Linked DNA regions of Homo sapiens: region 2 is linked to region 1. Evidence: promoter capture Hi-C in 16 types of primary human blood cells and fetal thymus (Javierre and others, 2016). All regions are on one chromosome and are shown on one strand. The core of a region is centred on a gene start or on the middle of the fragment in contact, and the rest is flanking DNA. Distances in the headings are between cores, read along the strand shown.

The links. The method cuts DNA at HindIII sites, captures the fragments that hold promoters and counts their contacts. A CHiCAGO score of 5 or more calls a contact.
Region 2: a contact is called between a fragment that was not itself captured here and the fragment with the promoter of GRTP1-AS1 in region 1, in 1 of 17 cell types (M2 macrophages). The highest score is 5.2, in M2 macrophages.

What each region holds. Positions count from the first base shown.
Region 1 is chr13:113,348,828-113,354,265 of GRCh38, forward strand. GRTP1-AS1 (GRTP1 antisense RNA 1) reads left to right here and starts at 2,846. Exons shown (of 2, transcript NR_120385.1): 1 at 2,846-3,143. GRTP1 (growth hormone regulated TBC protein 1) reads right to left here. Exons shown (of 8, transcript NM_024719.4): 4 at 2,022-2,146. RefSeq lists a silencer at 1-97 and enhancers at 746-1,406, 1,407-2,067. The HindIII fragment of the contact is 10,625 bases long and covers 1-5,438 here.
Region 2 is chr13:113,005,360-113,011,227 of GRCh38, forward strand. All of the region lies in intron 1 of MCF2L (MCF.2 cell line derived transforming sequence like), which reads left to right. LOC107984591 (a long non-coding RNA gene) reads left to right here. Exons shown (of 2, transcript XR_001750037.2): 2 at 516-4,977. Among named protein-coding and RNA genes, the nearest start is that of MCF2L, 39 kb to the left of the region's middle. The HindIII fragment of the contact is 1,005 bases long and covers 3,942-4,946 here.

The sequences.
Region 1 (5,438 bases), core at 1,596-4,095:
CTGCCCCGCAGATGCCGCGACCTCTGATGCACAGCTTCCAGAGCTGAGAGAGAATTCGTTTCCACTGTTTACCAGGCTGTGGCATTTCCTTAGGGGCCCACAGCAAGCTAACAGGTGCACATCTCCGCACACACATGTACGTATGTGCCTGTAGGTTCCAAAAGCCAGCTGTGCTCTGGCATTCTGTTAGTATGTAACATTGTGTTTGTGCCTTGTTTTTTAAGAATAGAGATGGGGTCTTGCTCTATTGCCCAGGCTGGTCTTGAACTCTTGGCCTCAAGCAAACAATCCTCCTGCCTTGACCTCCCAAAGTGCATGATTATAGGCAAGGGCCACCCAGGTGGGTGGTGTTTTTTTTTGTTTGTTTCTCGGTTTTTTTCAGACAGGGTCTTGCTCTGTTGCCCAGGCTGGAGTGTAGTGGTGCCAACATGGCTCACTGCAGGCTTGACCTCCCAGACCCAAACGACCCTCTCACCTCAGCCCCTCGAGCAGCCGGGACCACAGGCGTGTGCCACCACACCCCGCTAATTTTTAAAAATATTTTGTAGAGATGGAGTCTTGCCACCTTGCCCAGGCTGGTGTATGCATTTTAATAAAGCTGTTTTTAAAACACAAAGGAGCAGTAAATAGAATGATGTAGAGGATTTCTTGCCCATTCTACCTCAACTCCAGAAGGCCACGTTCTTGCTCCTGGACAGTCATAAAAGTGAGGAATGGCAGGAATTCTGTCTGCAAAGGAGGGACTCTCCCAGCTTCACCCGACACGGCACTGCCAGCCAGCTACAGAGCCACACACGCACAGCACGTGGAACAGCTGGTGAGGACAGCGTGGTCCCGTGGCTCTGCTGCTGGCCTTTCACAGGGCGCTCCTCACGCAACGTCCACCCTTTCTCCTCGGGAGCATTCACTCTGCCAGGTGCCAGGCCCAGGGCTGTCCAGGCAGGGGCTCCACACTCCTCCAAACGTTCACTCAAACTGCATTTTCTGGTTGGTGCACGCCTGGCTCCCGGCTCCTACAGGAAGTTTCTGGGGGCATCACTGGGACTGCTAGGTTCGAACCACCCATCGCGACGATGTCCTTCCCTGTCCTCCTAGAAACGTTTAAGCCAGCCACAACCCCTAGGAGCCCGTGAAGCACATGGCCTAAAATGCCAGGAACGCACTCTCCAATCCCGGTGGCAGCCGTGGGCTCCAGGCTCTCAGCCACGGGGACTCACAGGCAGTCACGGGCTGTGCGCACACCTGGAAACCCTCGTGGAGGCCAGCCCTGCCCAGATGCCTGCCCTGCCCTCGGCGAGCTCAGACAGACTGGAACAGCACCACCAGCGACAGGCCCAGGCAGGACACACAGGCTGGGAGACTGCACGGCTCCTGGTTGCCCTGCATTCCGGCCTGTTCACTCCACTAGTTACTAACAGCAATGCCCTTAATATGCGCCCAGCTAGGTGGCCTCCGGGAGGCGCAAGGACTCTCCCAACTGCAGCTGCTGGTTCACACCACGGAGCCAGCCAGGGGATGACAGTGTAGACAGCAGACACTCTGGGAGTGGCCTCAGAGGACGACACACACCTCACAGCACATGCACCCCATAGCACACACATCCCACAGCGCACGCACCCCACAGCGCACGCACCCACAGCACACATATCCCATACACACACCCCATGGTGCACATGCCTTCCAGCATACACACCCCACAGCACACACACCCCACAGCACACACACCCCACAGCACACATATCCCACAGCACACACACCCCACAGCGCACGCACCCCACAGCACTCGCCCTCTGTGTCCCGTGCTGATTCTCCTCCCGCCACCTGAGGCCGGAATGAGGTCGTCGGCTGCTGCTCCCTGTCCTCCCTGCTGGGAAATGGCGTCCGAGCCTCAATGGGGCATCAGGACGTGGAATTCATGAACAGGGTTGACAGAGACGTGAGGCCGTCACTGCCGAGCCTGCAGCTGTGGACAGACCTGTCCTCACAGCCACCTCATGGCGTCAGAGGGTCCCGAGGCTCACCTGGCAGTAGCCCACTCCCTGGTTATGGTGCCCATATGCCAGCAGCACATTGTACAGGGTCCTCTGTAAGCAGGGGTCCGTGGTCTTCCGGAACTTCACGTTGTCGGGGAAGGTCCGGTTCAGGTCTGTGGGAAATTCAGAAGGAATCACCCACGGGTTTCTGTTCCACAAGCCTCCCACCCCTCCAGCTGCCCCGAGGGTGGCCACCTGGGTTCCACTTGGGACTTACGGACTGGTTTTCACCCTGGCCGCACAGCAGACTCAACACAGCCAGAGCGACAGGCTCACTGGGCCAGGAAGGAGGGGGTGATCCTGAACTCGGGGCGGAGAGGGGCCCTAACCGTCCTTCCCGCAGAGTCAGGGACAGCAGAGCGACCCCAGAGCTGGTGGCCAGGCCATGGCACTCCCTCCTCAATGCCCGTCTCCTCCCGGCCCCCAGCACAGGCCTCCTGCACCTCGGACCTCGCGCGTAGCGGAGGCAACTCTGCCTCGAGGACCCAGGGTGACAGGTGGAGAGAAATGCACACAAAACTTTGAGGTGTTTTCCTAATTTCAAAGATCCAAAACAGAAGGAGACAGAATAAATTGAGACTCCTCAGAGATAAAGGACACGGCTGAGAGCTGAGAGCTGAGAACTGAATAAACCTCGAGTTGTCAGCTTGTGTGTGCAGGAGGCATCCCTGCCGGCCTCTTCCTTCCTCAGCACCAACCCCTCCCACTGTCCCGCCCAGGCATCTCTTGGCAGGACAGTGTGGCCTTGGCCAAGCTGTTTAGTGCTGGGGGACCCGGATACCACGTGGGTCCCTGAGACTAACCAAGCCTCACGCTGACCAAGTGCCAGGCCTCACTGAAGCTGACCTCCGCGTTAACCCTGGACACAAGCCGAGCAGGAAGGATAATGCCGGCTTGACAACTCCACTGGTTTCTGCTCCCACTGGCCCTACCTCTGTTAGAGGTGTTCGCCAGGCACCCCATGCGGTCACCAGCAGACAGCCGCTTTCTGCACAAGTTCCAAGATGGACTCACAGCAGTCCCCGCCAGCCATGACGCTGAGATGGGTGTACACCCAGCTCTGGAGGAACCCAACCGCCTGTGGTCTCTCCACAACGGCTGCAAAATACTGTAAGTCTGTTTCCGACCTCTGGCCCCAGGCCTTATCTTTGCTTACAAAAAACTAGATTTGGGCCAACATTAGTTCAATGCCTCAGAGCACATTATTTCTCATTGTGTGTTTTCTTACAAAAGAGCCTTTTTTTTTTTCTGGAATTCTAAACATTCCAAAAAATGGAATCAGTCAAGGGGAAGTTAGTATTTTTGCTATTTCAGACTAGAGTGACCAGCTGTGTTCATTTATATGTAATATTTTTATTGAGTTTTCTATATTTATATATATATTTATATATATTTATATATTTTTATATTTTTATATATATTTATATATATTTATATATATTTTATATATATTTTATATATATTTTTATATATATTTTATATATATATTTATATATATTTTATATATATATATATATTTATATATATATTTAACACAGGGTCTCACTCTGTCACCCAGGCTGGAGTGCAGAGGTGCAATCACGGCTCACTGCATCCTCGACCTCCAGGGCTCAAGCGATCCTCCCACCTCAGCTTCCTGAGTAGCTGAGACTACAGGCACACACCACCATGCCTGGGCTAATTTACGTATTGTTTTGTAAAGACAGAGTTTTGCCATGGTGGCCAGGCTGGTCTTGAACTCCTGAGCTCAACTAATCCGCCTGCCTCAGCTTCCCGAAGTGCTGGGATTACAGGCGTGAGCCACCACACTAAGTTTCTTGATATGTTTTGATAACATCCTGTGGGAAAGGAGATGGCTCCATCTCCATTGTGGAGACAGAAGAGCATGGGAGCTTTCTGTCTGCACTGCGTGGCCTGGCATTGGCTCTGTGGGACTGGACCATCCACTGCATGGCTCCTGAAAGATAACTGACCAGGTGGCTCCAATTACTAAGCACAGAACTGTCATGGATCCAGCAGCCCCACACTCTAGGTAGGAGCCCACAGCTGAAAGCAGGGACCCAGTAGAATCCACACTCTGGGTAGGAGCCCACAGCTGAAAGCAGGGACCCAGCAGAGTCCACTCTAGGTAGGAGCCCACAGCTGAAAGCAGGGACCCAGCCCCACACTCTGGGTAGGAACCCACAGCTGAAAGCAGGGACCCAGCCCCACACTCTGGGTAGGAACCCACAGCTGAAAGCAGGGACCCAGCCCCACACTCTGGGTAGGAACCCACAGCTGAAAGCAGGGACCCAGCCCCACACTCTGGGTAGGAACCCACAGCTGAAAGCAGGGGCCCAGCCCCACACTCTGGGTAGGAACCCACAGCTGAAAGCAGGGACCCAGCAGAATCCACACTCTGGGTAGGAACCCACAGCTGAAAGCAGGGACCCAGCAGAATCCACATACCCAGGCTCACGGCCATGCCACCCATAACAGCCGTGCGGCAGGAGAGCCCAGGGGTCCACTGATAGATGGATAAATGAACAAAATGTAGTCTGCCCATGCGTGGAATATTATTCACCCTTAAAGAAGGAGGAAATTGTCACACAAGATGCAGTACAGAGGATCCCTGAGGACTGAGGCGAGGGAAAGGACCCCAGCTGCAGAGGACGCAGCCCACGGGACTCCTCTTATGTGACCCTGGAGTTGCCAAAGCACGGAGACAAGCGTACAGTGGGACTGCCAGGGGCTGGGCAAGGACACGGGGGTCGGTGCTTGACAATGGGGATGGCACAGAGACAAGCGCACAGCGGGATTGCCAGGGGCTGGGTGAGGACATGGGGTTCAGTGCTTAACAATGGGGAAGCTCCCAAGAGCTTCAGCTTGGGAAAATGAAATGGTAAATTTTATATTAGGCATATTTTACCATAATTTAAAAAACAATTCAGCCAGGTGGGTGGCTCACTCCTGTAACCCTAGCACTTTGGGAGGTGAAGGAGGGCGAATCCTCAGAGCCCGGGAGTTCAAGACCAAAACCCCATCTCTGCAAAAAAATAAAAATTAAAAAATGAGCCAGGTGTGGTGGTGCACACCTGTGGTTCAGACCACTTCCAGCTACGCAGGAGGCTGAGGCAGGAGGATCGCTTGAGCCTGGTAGGTCACGGCTGAAGTGAGCTGTCACTGTGACCGCACCACTACACTCCAGTCTGGGTAACAGACTGACACCTGTCATAAAAAATAAAAAAATTCATCCAAAAAACCACAAAACAGAGACTTTAAATGCATTTTTCAGACAGCAGTGCTGTTTTAATATGCACCCCCACCCACTGCACCCAAGCTCTCCTCTTCCCACCCTGAATCAGCGTTTCTGGCCGCCAGGCTGTGCACTGGAGACCTTTGGCGGCCATCACTCTGTGGTCAGGA
Region 2 (5,868 bases), core at 3,194-5,693, 340 kb before region 1:
AGATGCTGGCCGGAGGACACAGAGTTTCCGTTGTGCCAAATGAATGAAGTCTGGGGGTCTGTTCGTGGTGGGCCATGGACTATTCGTGGTGACTGACTGTGGTCTGTTTGTGGTGGCCGTGGCGTGTTTGTTGTGGCCATGGTTGGTTTGTGGTGGCCGTGGTCTGTTTGTGGTGGCCGTGGTTGGTTCTGGGTGGCTGTGGTCTGTTTGTGGTGGCCGTGGTCTGTTTGTGGTGACCATGGTTGGTTCTGGGTGGCTGTGGTCAGTTCATGGTGGCTGTGACCTGTTCAAGGTGGCCGTGGCCTGTTTGTGGTGACTGTGGTTAACGCTGTATTTGTACCTGAGGTTTGCTGGGAGTGGATGTTGGGTATTCTAACTGTAAAAGGAAATGGCAGCTGTGGGAGGTGACAGTCAGTCACCAGTGAGTTTGGTGGTGGCTATGGTTTCACAACGTGAACTATATCAAAACAGCACGTGTGCGCCTTAAATACATACAATTATTTTTCTCAATATAGCTGGAAAAAATAGCCAGAAGCTGTAAGCTCAGGAAGTGATGAGCCAGCCAAGGGCTCCGTTCACAACACCCTGCACAGTGAACAGAGCTGAGTAAATGGGGCTGCTTAGCGAAAATCATCGGACTCGAAGCTCCCTGATGGCTCCAACATCTTCCGTGACTCTGGGCAACTCCTGTGCAATGGGAGGCCGTGCCCTGCCATGTCCCCGCCTTCCTGCCCACAAGCCTGCCCTGTCCCAGCCACTGGGGTCTCACTCACCCATCAGCCTGGAAACAGACGCATGTCGGCACCCTCCCAGCCCCTCTGCGAGAGCCTCTCCATAGCCTCGCTGTTGAGCCCGTGGCAGTGAAGGTCCCAGGCGCTGGAGCAGACGGCGTGGGCTCAGTCCTGGCACTGCCTGCCCTGCAGTCCTGGGCTGCTTACAGCTGAGCCTGACCTTGAATTCCCCGTCTTTAAAACAAGGATGATGAGGCTTCATGCTCCCTAGGTCCTCGCGAGGACTCACTCAATGCACTGGAGCCAGGTGTGAGTAGGAAACCTGCCTTTCTGGCCTGATCCTCCCCCCGGGAGCACAGGGTGGTCCTCATCTGAACCCCGAGGGGGTCTCCCTGGCATGCCCTTTCTCCCTGGACCCCTAGCCATTCCAGGTGCAGCTGCCAGTGCGACCCCTCCTGCGGACAGGAGGTCCATGTGAGGGCTCAGCTGCCTCTGAACCGGAAAGGCGCTGGCAGGCAGTGGCTGGGAGAGCAGGCGCACCCTGGGCGGCCTCCAGGAGAGAAAGGGAGACGTGTGCATCTCAGTGGGGGCTGGCGGGAGACACTAAGGTGTTGAAGACCCTCGGGTCTGGGCCCTGTGGAAATGCTCCCTGCGGGTGCCACCAGCCCTGCCCACTCAGCAGTCACTTGAGAACGCCCCGAGCATCTGGCCCAGGAGGCTCGGCCTGGAGCCTCACATGTGCGGAGGTTTGGCTCAGCCCCCAAGGGCAGGCCCAGGTCTGTGGCGGGGTGTGGGGAGGCAGCGGAGCCATGGGTACTGTGTAGCGGGTAGGGCTGTGACCGGAGGTGGCAAAGCCGGCAGCCAGCCCGGCCCTTGGGGGAGAGGGTGGCAGGGTCAGGGTCTCTGAACTCTGGAAGGAACCTGCGTCCCTCATCCTGAAACCCGGCCTCCTGTGTCTCTCAGACAGTGGCTCTCAGTCACTTTGGTCTCTGGTCCCTCTGCCCCTTGATTTTTTAAGTTGTTCTAGCTCAGAAGCCATTGTGTGTATGGTGTGACTACACCCCAGCCAGGGCATGAGTGCACACAGATCCAGGGTCCGTGCAGAGCCCGCCAGGTGTAGGGTGGATGCTGAGGCCCACCTGGCTGAAACTGCACTCAGGCCATTTTACTGATGTCAGGAAACGTTCATGAAAATGCAAGCTGGTGAGCAGGCAAGTGCCCCCCTGCATGACAGACCCTCCTGGTGCCCCTGGCTCAGACAGTGTGACCTTGAGAACAGCGGGGGTCTAACCCCTGACCCCAGCGTCCGTGTCACCTGGGAGCCTCACCTTGAGACCCCTGCGTTGTGGTTCTGAAATCACTTGAGTGGGCCGTGGCCACCGTGAGGCGGAGAAAGAGGAAATACCTGCCAGAAGATCAAATTGCAATCCGTGTAATTTAAAGATCTCACTGGGCTTTGTTGGCGATTCTAGAGTGGGGCAGCACTGCATTCCATGAACTAGAATTAAGAGCTCCAGTGAAACACGCAGTGCGGGGCCGGCTGTACAGACAGGGCTGAGGAAAGCAGAAACTGTGCAAACGCGGTTCGGCGGCCTCAGTCACTGTCCTTTGTAAGCTTGGGGAGTCGGCGGGAGAGACGTGACCCACTGGCCACTTCAGGCGGCTCTGTGTCGTAAGGATCAGTTTCACATTAGGTGATTGCCGGACTTACATCAAGCTTGAAGAAGCAGAAGATCCCTGCACACACGTGTGGCCCAGACCAAGAGCCGTCACGTGACAAACTTTGTGCTTAAATGGGTTTTTAGTATGTGTATCTTTTCTTTTTCTTTTTTTTTTTTTTTTTTGAGATGGAGTCTCGCTCTGTCACCCAGGCTGGAGTGCAGTGGCACAATCTCAGCTCACAGCAACATCCACCTCCCAGGTTCAAAAGATTCTCCAGCCTCAGCTTCCTGAGTACCTGGGACTACAGGCACCTGCCACCATGCCCAGCTAATTTTTGTATCTTTAGTAGGGAGGGGGTTTCGCCATGTTGACCAGGCTGGTCTTGAACTCCTGACCTCAAGTGATTTGTCCACCTTGGCCTCCCAAAGTGTTGGCATTTATAGGCGTGAGCCACTGTGCCCGGCCAAGTACGGGTATCTTTTTGGCAGTGTGAAGAATTTATTTAGGCTTGACTGTTTTAAAGCACCATAATGAATGTATAATTAAGTTATGATAAAGTCTTAACCCTTTGTTACAGGGGAACGGTAATGTTGTGAGTGGCTGTGTCTCAGCCCCTGGACTCCAGCAGTCACCCTCATAGGAGTCCCACCTCTGCGGGCAGCTCAGAGCCTCCATGTTTTTATATTTAATTCTCATGGTTAAATTCAGTGCCGTAACTCATGGAATTAAGTCTTTTTAAAATCTAAGCAAACTGTCTTTAAGACAGAAAAAGTTGGGTAATTCTTCATCTATTTGAAGTGATGCTCTCTGGATGGGCTGCATCCTAAGAATGTATCAAAAGTGGAAATTCTGACCACTGTTTTGATTGTCCTTTTACATATTAAACAAGTTGAGAGCAAGAACAACAAAAAGAGGGACCTCCGTGACCACGCCGAGGAAGACAGAGCCTGGCCTGGTTGGAAGATTGGCCTCTCCTCTGTCTCCTGTTTTCTCCAAGGTCCGATAACAACTCAGTTTCCCTTGGAGTGTGGGGACTTCATTTTGATTTTCAGTCTGATCTGTTGGGGTCTAGGCAGGAGCTTGGTCCCAAACAACACACCCATGTGTGCTGAGGACACGCTCCAGGGGATTCTTACGCCCGCCTGCATCAGAGAACCCAGGTCTTGTGGGCGAGGCAGCGTGGAGAGGGAGCGCAGCTCTGGAGACGGCCCCCAGGGCTTGCGGGCGGGCGGGCGAGGCAGCGTGGAGAGCGGAGAGCGAAGCTCTGGAGACGACCCCCAGAGGAGATTGGCCAAGTGCGGATGTGCGAGTCCTCCCTGCCCGAGGCGCAAACTGTCTCACTCCAAAGGGCGTCCGGAGGGTTCTGCGGGGCGGCTGTGCACTGACACCTGCCCCCCACGTGGGAGTCCGCCGGCTCCTGGCCCTTGCCGGTTGGTGTTGCGCGTCTGAGATGACGCCCCTGCGGTAGGAGCGGGGTTTCCCTGATCACCGCTTCTTTTGACCATCTTTTCTGGCAGGGCCTTGTATTTTTAAAATGTGTAAAGGTTAAGCTTTCTGAGATCAGAAAAATAATATTTAGTGAACCATGTGATTTAAGTCACTGTGTATGTGACATGAAATATTTATACCTAACCCACTAGCAAATGGCTCGTTAAACATATTTGAGATTTAATGTAAGTGAGAATTCTGCCAACCAAGTCAGGATAAACCTTAAACATCGGGAATGCAAAATCAAACAGATCCTTTAACACACATCACAAACAGAGGTGTGGACGCCCCTTTTGTCCCAATGGCAGGGACGGGGCGCTGGCCCCCAGGGTGTCCTGTTTATCCCCTGACCCACACAGTGTCAGGAGCTTGTCTGGAGGGGACGGGGATGCTGGCCTCCTGGGGTGTCCTTATCTGAAGGCTGTGGTTTCAAGCATCCTCCTTACTGAATTTAGATTTTGTTCCGATTTTGTGGCCTGCGTTTCTTCTTACTGCCCTGCTCTGTGGCCCTGTTCTTCCTGGGTTTGGAGATCCTCAAGGATGGGCTTCGGGAAGGCCTCTGGCCGGATGATCTGGTGACGTAATCCCATCTGACGCTCAGCCTTGGACTTTGAAAAGGCACGACTGTCCTGTCTGATGGACAGGATGCAGAAGCCTTTGGGAATGGGCATTTTGCCAGAATAAATAAAAGAAGACAATTGGCAAAAGATGGACTGTACCCCATGGCCCCAGGCTGCTGTGTGGAGAGACTTGTCCTCTCCTCTGCCCACGGTCACCAGTGAGCACCAGGGACGGGGTTTCCTGCTGCACCTGGGCCTCTTCCTGCTGCCAGGAGCTGCCTTGCTGCCTCCACCTGTGACAGTCCACCCCCCATACCCCCCCCACCCGCACCATGAGAGGATTTCCAGGGCCCACCCGCCTCCAGTCCCCGTTCTCTCTGCTGCTTTCGAGGTCACCCTGGGCTGGAAGGGGTGCCTGGGATACTGCTCAGACGTCTTGGCCGCCCTCCCACCCCGCAACACCCCGCTCCTGGTTTTCAGGATGAAATTGTCCTCAAATAAAGCAAGCTTTTGAGTCAACTTGCAAGAGGAAGGAAGTTTGCTTCAGTCGTCTGGTTTTGTTGGAACAAAGAGATCTAAAGATAGACACATGGTCCCCCTCCCTGGACTGCCATTGCCAGGACCCTGTTTCTGTGAGGAAAAGTCAGTGGTGGGGCCTCACCTGTGTATCAGGTGAGCCAAGGGCACCTCTGCCCTTCCCACGCTTGGGAAATCTCACCACGTCGTCCCCGTAGTGGCCAGAAGAGATTGGCCCTCCCAGGTGGGGCTGCTGTGGTCGGTGCTGGGGATGGGCAGGGGCAGGCCTGGCCACCCCCTCGTCGGCCCCACCTGCTGCCTCTGCCCGCGTGGCAGGGGAATGGACGGGGCAGCCTCTGCCGGGCCTCAGATGTGAGGCCCTAACCCTCCCCTCTCAGACCTGCCTCTGAGCAGTGGGGTCATCACTGGGGAGTTGGTTGGAGCAGGGCTCAGTGAGGGAGCTGGGCCTGGCCTGGCCTTGGGTGGCACATACGGGTCAGGGGCCCACCACCTCCCAGACGTCTGACAGCACAGAGCCCCACAGAGGCCATGCTCGCCTGCCTGCATCTCCTCTGGGGACCTGTCTCCTGAACTGAGTGGCCACTATTGTTCCTCCGTGCGCTTCTTAGTCTTATGGCTGCAAAATTAAGTAGACTGGAACTTTTAAAGAAACTATGATCATAAGGGCAGATTTTCCCATCATTCTTGAGTGGGTTCAAAAAATCAAGAAGAATGAAAACTTACACACATAAATGGAAGAAACGCCCAGCGCCCTGAAAATCCCAGGGCCCCGCCTGCAGAAGGCCTCCATGAAGAACGGAAGAAGGCCAACACTCTGGTGTGGGTCAGAGAGCATCCACAGGCCTCTTCAGGTTCACAGAGTGGCCAGTGACCACTTCAGATGTAGCGAT